Linked DNA regions of Homo sapiens: region 2 is linked to region 1. The links are contacts of gene promoters, found by promoter capture Hi-C in human tissues and cell types (Jung and others, 2019). All regions are on one chromosome and are shown on one strand. The core of a region is centred on a gene start or on the middle of the fragment in contact, and the rest is flanking DNA. Distances in the headings are between cores, read along the strand shown. Region 1 holds the start of TMEM51 (transmembrane protein 51). Region 2 holds the start of LOC124903854 (a long non-coding RNA gene).

Evidence for each region. Contacts are between HindIII fragments. The study calls those that stand out against the background at their distance.
Region 2: a contact is called between a fragment that was not itself captured here and the fragment with the promoter of TMEM51 in region 1, in 1 of the 25 tissues and cell types used here (pancreas).

What each region holds. Positions count from the first base shown.
Region 1 is chr1:15,151,503-15,155,431 of GRCh38, reverse strand. TMEM51 (transmembrane protein 51) reads right to left here and starts at 1,685. Exons shown (of 4, transcript NM_001136218.2): 1 at 1,478-1,685. TMEM51-AS1 (TMEM51 antisense RNA 1) reads left to right here and starts at 2,968. Exons shown (of 5, transcript NR_027136.1): 1 at 2,968-3,141. RefSeq lists enhancers at 180-841, 973-1,062, 842-1,503 and silencers at 1,213-1,392, 1,483-1,532, 1,593-1,862. The HindIII fragment of the contact is 16,508 bases long and covers 1-3,929 here.
Region 2 is chr1:15,600,373-15,604,301 of GRCh38, reverse strand. It overlaps LOC124903854 (a long non-coding RNA gene), which reads left to right and starts at 759. Exons shown (of 3, transcript XR_007065483.1): 1 at 759-1,213. The HindIII fragment of the contact is 5,748 bases long and covers 1-3,929 here.

The sequences.
Region 1 (3,929 bases), core at 436-2,935:
GATCATCATCCCATTTTACAGATGAAGAAGCTGAGGCTCAGAGAGGTCAGGTCACACAGCCAGCAAGTGGTGTGGCCTGACTGTATCGCCAATTCTGCAACACTTTTCATGAGTATCCCTGACTCCCTCACTAGGCTGGGGGCTCCCTGAGGCTTCTGGGCTCTGGGTCACTGGGGCAGGCCCCAGACACCCCATCAGAGAGCTGTCAGCTCCGAAGCCGTGAGGAGCAGGTTCACCACTAGCCTCCTCTCTCTTTCTTTGGCCTTTTCTCCCAGTCTGGGGGTACCTCTCAATTGGTGGAGTGAGATATTTGGAGGGGCAGGGGCTCTGTCCCAATAGGTCAGGATCCTCTTGTGACAGGTTTCCGGGGTGTGAAAGCTGTTCACGGTCCCAGGGCCAACAGTTCCCTAGACAAGCTGTTCTCCGGGTAACCCATTCAAAAGGAAAGCCAGAAGCCGGCCGGTCCTAGAGGGGAAAGCCTTCCACCCGCTGACTTACCTCCCGGTTCGGGTCCCTGCCCCGCCCACCTCGTCCCCGCCCACCCCACTCCGGCAGCGCCCGGGTTCCCAGCAGCCAGACCTCCCCTGCTGTTGGGAAGGACCCGCAGTCCCATGCACCGTCACAGGCACCTCGGAGCGCTGCGCAGGACACCCCACGGGCTGCTCCCTGGGGAAACCGTGGGGGAGGGGCCAGGTCTCTCGCCCCCACCGCTGGTTGGGAAAGAGACCATTATCCTGTAATGCAGACCAGGCGCGCCGGGCCAAGCGCCTCCCGTTTGTGCGCTGATTTGAGATCTGATTTGTACTCTGCTCTCCCCTAGGCCCGGTAACGTAACTTACCGCTGAGTGCTTGCTGGGTGCTGGGCATGAATGCCCCGCCGCACCCTGGGACGTTGTCATGTCAGTTTCACAGATGAAGAAACCGACGCGCTCAGGGAAGGACTCGAGTTTCAATCCACTTTGCTCATGCCCGATTCTTTACCCCCGTGTTTGCTTGTAGAGCGACACACACACATACACACACACGAATCTAAATCCCTAAAAGGCCCCGACTTCCATACAGTAAGGGATGCGCGAGCAAAGCGCCAAGGTGGTTTCCTGGGACCTACTGGGAAGTTCTGCTCCTAACCACGCGCTGAAAGCGCTTCTGGCGAAGCCAAGGGTTCGAAGCCCGCCGGGCGGATAGCACCTGTTCCCGCCAACAGGGGGCCCCCAAGGCCAGCTGCCTTCCCCAGCCGAGGCCAGCTGGCCAGGCGCGGTGCCCGGGAGGCGGGAGCGTCCCGCGCCGGCGGGGCGCGGCCGCAGAGGGTGCGGGGTGCGGAGTCCTCCCGGTGGTCGACCCCAGGCGGGAAGCGCTCGGCGGACAGACGGACGGACAGGAGACCCAAACGGGCCTCGGCCCCCTTACACGGCCCTGTGGGGAACCGACAGCGCGCCGCGGGAAGCAGCGGGCGCAAGGCGCGGCGGCTGAGACTCACCCGGGAGGCGGCGGGTCCGGCTCCGTCTCGGCTGGGCGGTCCGGGACTGCGGGCTTCGCGACCCCCGCGCCCCACCCGGGCGGCCTCCTCGGTGGGCGCCGCGATCGCGGGGCTGGGGTTCGGGGGATTCTTAGCCGAGGGAACGCAGTGGTGGAGAGGGCGCACTGCCCTCTCAGGGACCGGGTTGGGGACGCAGGAAGCGCGGCCTGGGAGCGCCGGCGTGCGGGAGGGAGGGACCGCGGGAGGCGGAGGGCGGTGCCGGCCAGGAGCGGCCTCCAGCCCGGAGAAGCACCGCCCACCGGCCGACCCTCCCTCCCGGCCCTCGGCACCACCCCCGGGCCCGAGGCGAGGGATCGCAGCTGAGCGAGGCGGGCACCCACTCCCCAGCGTATGCCGCTGGAGCGCGCTGAGCGTGTGCCGGGGGCTGGGCCTAAGTTCTCCCCAACCCTTGCCAGCCGAGTTGGATAAGAGGGGGTCGGGAGAAAATAGAGCCCTGATCCCCCCTCCTCCCTAGGGCCCAGAGAATCGGTGTGCATGCGTGTGTGCGCGCACGCGCGTGTGTGTGACGGGTGGTGGTCGGGGAATGTCTCAAGCTAGAAGTCCCAGGTTTTAGGGGTTTAAGTGGAGCTGGGAGACCCGCTTTCCTCCCACACCAGGCGCAGACGCCGAGGCACAGCTCCGCCAGCCGCCCCGCCTTTACCTGGCGGGATACTCACCTCTCCTCCTTCCTGGGGAGGCCACCGCCTCCCTCTCCCCCTTCTGCCCTGGGCTGGTTCCCAGCGAGGTGAGTGACCGGCACAAGTAGGGAAGGAGGAAGCGAGTTTTTAAAAACTGAGTCAGCTCACGCCCTCGGCCAGGGTCCCCACCCGATGCGTGGTCCCCAGGGCGCCCTCGGGATCGCACGCCCGAGTCCCGGCCCAGGTGGGGCCCATTCCGGGTTCTTGCGCGCGGGCAATGGATGGGGGCGCGCTGCACCGGGAGCCTGCCCTGCTGAGGGCTCATCCCCAGCTTTGCCGAGAACTTTCCCGGCGAGGCACCGGCTGGCGTTTTCCCAGCCTGCGAGTGGCAGGCGGGCAGCCAGTCTCTGCTCGGATCCACGGAGGCCCGGAGCCGCCACGGAGTTCTGGCTCCGGGGAGTGCAAACCCGAAGTCGGCGCGGAAGCCTCTCACCCGCGGCTCTGCCTCCGCCCCTTGGAGATCTGCCCTCGGAACTGCGTTGCTCTGGCGCCCGAACTAGGGTGGGCTGGTTTCAGCCAGACCGCCAAAAAACGTGGATGCTAAACACAGAGGGAAGAGCCAGCTCCCATTCCCTCTCTGAGCCTTAGATTTTTTTGAATTCCGAGAGAGGTCAGGCCGGGGTCCCCTTCTTGGGTGAGCGTCCAGCCCTTTGAAGTTCAAACACTGAGAAGCCGATAGGCAGCTGGCTGGCGTCACAGGATCGAGCCGAGGACTGAAGGCGCCTCCTACCGGGAATCCACCGCCTCCAGACGAAAATAGGCTGCAATCAAGTTCACTTCCAAAGGCGGAATTCATGGGTACATATGGTGTCCACGTGTGTACACCTGCAGAGTTGTAACATGCGGGCATTTCTCCCCTCAGCCCGCCATTCTGGCTTCTTAACTTGCACCCTAACAGCTCGACAGAACCTTGGCGTCCACAAAAAGGCAAGTTTGGGTCTGCCTTATGATTTGGGGGTGGGAAGGCATTTGGGGAAACAGTCTCCATGTCTATGACAGCAACTGCTATTCCTCACATCCTTGCTATGAACCAGGGGCGGGGTTACCACCCACATCCCCTGAACCATCTCATTTAATCCTCATAACCTAGGAGGCGGTTATTTGTTATGCCCACTTTATAGAAGAGAAGGCTGAGGCTTAAGGAGGTGAGGTCATTTTGCCCAGTGAAAACACAGCTGGGAAGTATCAGGATCTAGACCCAAGATGATCCACTCCAGAGCTTCTGCTCTCCCTCCCATAGCATAATTCCTCCTGTCTGCACATACTCTCCACCCTGAGAGAATGTTCACCTTGCCTGGCCACCTGCAAATGCGGAATAAACATTTGTTGGATGAATGAAAGCCCTAAATAATAACCCATGATTTTAGTGAATAGGGAGGACCCTTTGTGTAGGCAGGTACCTATAATAATATGCTCCCATTTAAGAGCTGTGCGTATTCATCCCAAAGTTTAGACAATGCATGTGGGGACCTTCCCAGGCTCCAAAGGAGTGACAGGAAACAGTCACGTAGCTCTCAGATAAGACCAGGAATCTGGTTTTCATTTGACTCTGCAAGATGGACTTTGGAGAGGCCTGGGGTGGGGGCGGGGGGTGATCATGTCAGAACAGCTGTCCCAGCTCCTAATCTGAAGACAAAGAGCTGCTGTACTTTTCCATGCCAGGGTCATCCCAGACCCGCCCCACTCTGCTGCAGACTCAACTGGGCAGGTCTTGT
Region 2 (3,929 bases), core at 782-3,281, 450 kb before region 1:
CAGTTTCATCACCACATGGTCACCAGCAAAGTTTCGTTTCTTTTAAGTGGCGTGATCTCAGCTCACTGCAACCTCTGCCTCCTGGGTTCAAGCGATTGTCCTGCCTCAGCCTCCAGAGTAGCTGGGATTACAGATGCGCGCCACCACACACGGCTAATTTTTGTACTTTCAGTAGAGATGGGGTTTCGCCTAGTTGGCCAAGCTGGTCTCGAACTCCTGACCTCAAGTGATCCCAAAGCGCTGAGATTACAGGCATGAGCGACCACACGCCCGACCTTCACCCATTATTTGTCAGGAAATTTCTGGCCAGCCTAACATTAGCAGGTGTTGACGTAACTAAAAGCTTCTGTCTTACTTTGAGGAAATGCTCTTGCACAACTGAACTAGCCTCATTGACACAATTCTGCACCGTTTCACTGCTTCACCATAGCCAGCCCAGACAAGTCTCAAGCGCCGGTTTCCTTTCTTTGGTCGCACCAGCCAAAGCCAGGACTTTGTAAAAGGATACGGCGCAAACCCCAGGAATGCCTCGCCTATGCGCTCAGAGCCACAACTGCCTTCGCGAAAAGCTCTGCCAAAGGGCGGTTGCGCCGCATCACGTGCCTGCGGCGTAATCTCCCACTGGGCAGCGGCGCTGGCTCACGTGACACGTGCAGGCCAATGCCTGGCGTCCGCGCATTTGGCTCCTGGTTGCTAGGCGACGCCAACCCGATTCTGGTTGCTGGAGTTTATCCTCCCGAGGTTGCTGTGCGAGTTTCGGACTCAGCTCAAGCGCTTGGATCCCTACAGCACCTGCGAGGGCTTCTCCTGGCTGCCGCTTTCGTTCTGGCGAATGTTCGGGGTGGCAGCCCCCCTTCGAGGCTTGCACGAGGGCGTCCCGGCATCCGCGATCAAGCGGGCCCTGCTGCTTTTGGGGCTGACCCTGCGGCTGGGGTGCTGCGGCGTCGCTCTGGCTATGCCCGGTCCACTCACGGACTCCCTGCTTTGGCCTGCTCAGCTCAGGAGAACCGGGCCCGACTCCATTTCGGGCAGTGGTGGACAGGGAAACTAGTGCCTGCCTGTAGTGGTCCCAGGCATAGAGCTTCCTGCAGCTACCCTGTGGCTTAGTTCACGTTTTGTTGCTTTGACCACCGATGAGAAATGTGCAGTAGGGACCCTGTAGGAGTCTGCTTACCCGAAATGGTTTCTGTCTTGAATAGTTGTTGAGTGAAAGGTAACGTGTTTCGATTAAATATATATGTGTGTGTGTGTGTGTATTCCCAGAAGTGAAAAGACTTAAATATTCTTTTTTTTTTTTTTTTGAAATGGAGTCTCGCTCTGTCGCCCAGGTTGGAGTGCAGTGGCGCGGTCTCGGCTCACTGCAACCTCTGCCTCCCGGGTTCTCTGCCTCAGTCTCCCAGTAGCTGGGATTACAGGCGCCCACCACCACGCCTAGCTAATTTTTTTTTTTTTTTTTTTTTTTTTTTTTTTTTTTTAGTAGAGACGGGGTTTCACCATCTTGGCCAGGCTAGTCTTGAACTCCTGACCTCGTGATCCACCCACCTCGGCCTCCCAAAGTGCTGGAATTACAGGTGTGAGCCACTGCGCCTGGCCTAGGATTTTCAATCTAGAAACGGTCGTGGAGTGTCTGGGACTTGTATGTAGCTCGCTGTTTACTAGAGGGTTTGGTATTTCACGTGTATTTAATTTATATTTGGATTGGATTTTACTTACTTTTCTAATCAGCCTGTGAACTAAAGTGAACAAACAGGTTTCAGTGCCCTTTGTTTTCAGACATAAGGAAACATGACCGGAGAAATTATAGTCATGCATTGTTTAACAGAGATATGAGAAATGCATCTTAGGTGAATCTATCATTGGAATATCATAGAGTTTTTTTGTTTGTTTGTTTTGTTTTTGAGACAGGGTCTTGCTGTGTCGCTCAGGCTGCAGTGCAGTGGTGCCATGACAGCTCGCTGCAACCTCGATCTGCTGTGATACTTCTGCCTCAGCCTCCTGAGTAGCTGGGACTGCAGGCCTGCATCACCATGCCAGACTAATTTTTTAAAATTAAATTATATATTTTTGTATATTTTAATTTTCTTTTTATAGAGAAAGGGTCTTGCTATGTTTCTCAGGCTGGTCTCGAACTCCTGGTCTCAAGCAATCCACCTGCCTCAGCCCCCCAAAGTGCTGGGATTACAGGCCTGAGCTACCATGTCTAGACCACAGCCGGCTAATTTTAATTTTTTTTGTATAGACAGGGTTTCTCCCTCTGTTGCCCAGTCTGGTCTCCAACTTCTGGGCTCAAGCAGTCTTCCTGCCTTGACCTTCTAAAGTGTTGGAATTACAGGCATGAGCCACTGAGTCCTGCCCATAGAGTGTACTTACGCAAACCTAGATAGTATAGCCTACTGCACACCTAGGCTATATGATACAGCCTACTGCTCCTACGCTACAAATCTCTACAGCATGTTACTGTACTGTATACTGTAGGCAATTGTAACACAATGGTTGGTATTTTTGTATCTAAACATAGAAAGGGTACACTAAAAATGGTACAATAAAAATACAATATTGTAATCTGATGGAACCACTGTCTTATATGCAGTCTGTTGTTGACTAAAGATCATGTGACATGTGACTGTATTTGCTCAATGTATTGCATGGAGAGGGCCAGTGCTTCTCAAATGTGTGTAGTAACCACTTAGCAATCTTTTGTTTTTTTAAGACGGAGTCTCACTCTGTCACCCACGCTGGAGTGCAGTGGTGCGATCTTGGCTCACTGCAACCTCTGCCCCCCGGGTTCAAGCAATTCTCCTGCCTCAGCCTCCTGAGTAGCTGGGATTTCAGGCGCACACCACCACGCCCGGCTAATTTTTGTATTTTTAGTAGAGACGGGGTTTCACCACCTTGGCCAGGCTGGTCTTGAACTCCTGACCTCGTGATCCACCCCCCTCGGCCTCCCATAGTGCTGGGATTACAGGCGTGAGCCACCGCGCCCGGCCAGGAACCTTGTTAAACTGTATATTCTGATTCATTAGGTCTGGAGCAGGTCCTGAGAATTTCTGCAGTTCTGACAAGCTCCCAGGTGTATATGATTCTGCTGGTGTGATGCACGCCTCAAATAGCAGTAGCCCTAAGTGACACGGTTAATAGCACAATTGCCTCCTTTCCATATCTGATTCTTATGCCCAAACAACAATTTCTTAATATTTATGAAATTTCAGTTACATATGAAGAGAAAGTCATAGGATGGAAATGACAAATAGCGTTGCCAAGATAGAATTTTTATTAAGGATTCATTTTGCTTATTTTATTACTTGAAAATCTGAGAATTCACAATATTGGAAATAATGGGCTTAAAAATATCAAGCTGGCTGGGTGTGGTAGCTCGAGCCTGTAATCCCAGCACTTGGGAGGCCGAGGCGGGGGGATCACCTGAGGTCAGCAGTTTGAGACCAGCCTGGCCAACATGGTGAAACCCCATCTCTACTAAAAATACAAAAATTAGCCAGGCATGGTGGTGGGCGCCTGTAATCCCAACTTCTCGGGAGGCTGAGGCAGGAGAATTGCTTGAACCCACGAGGCGGGGTTTGCAGTGAGCCAAGATGGCACCACTGCACTCCAGCTTGGGCCACAAGAGCAAAACTCCATCTCGAAAAAAAAAAAAGTATCCAGCGACACGGTAGCTCACGCCTGTAATCCCAGCACTTTGGCTGGTCAAGGCAGGTGGATCACGAGGTCAGGAGTTCAAGAACAGCCTGGCCAAGATGGTGAAACCCCATCTCTAATAAAAACGACAAAAATTAGCTGGGCACAGTGGCAGGCACCTGTAATCCTAGCTACTCGGGAGGCTGAGGCAGGAGAATCGCATGAACCTGGGCGGCAGATGTTGCAGTGAGCCGAGATTGCGCCACTGAACTCCAGCCTGGGCGACAGAGAGACTC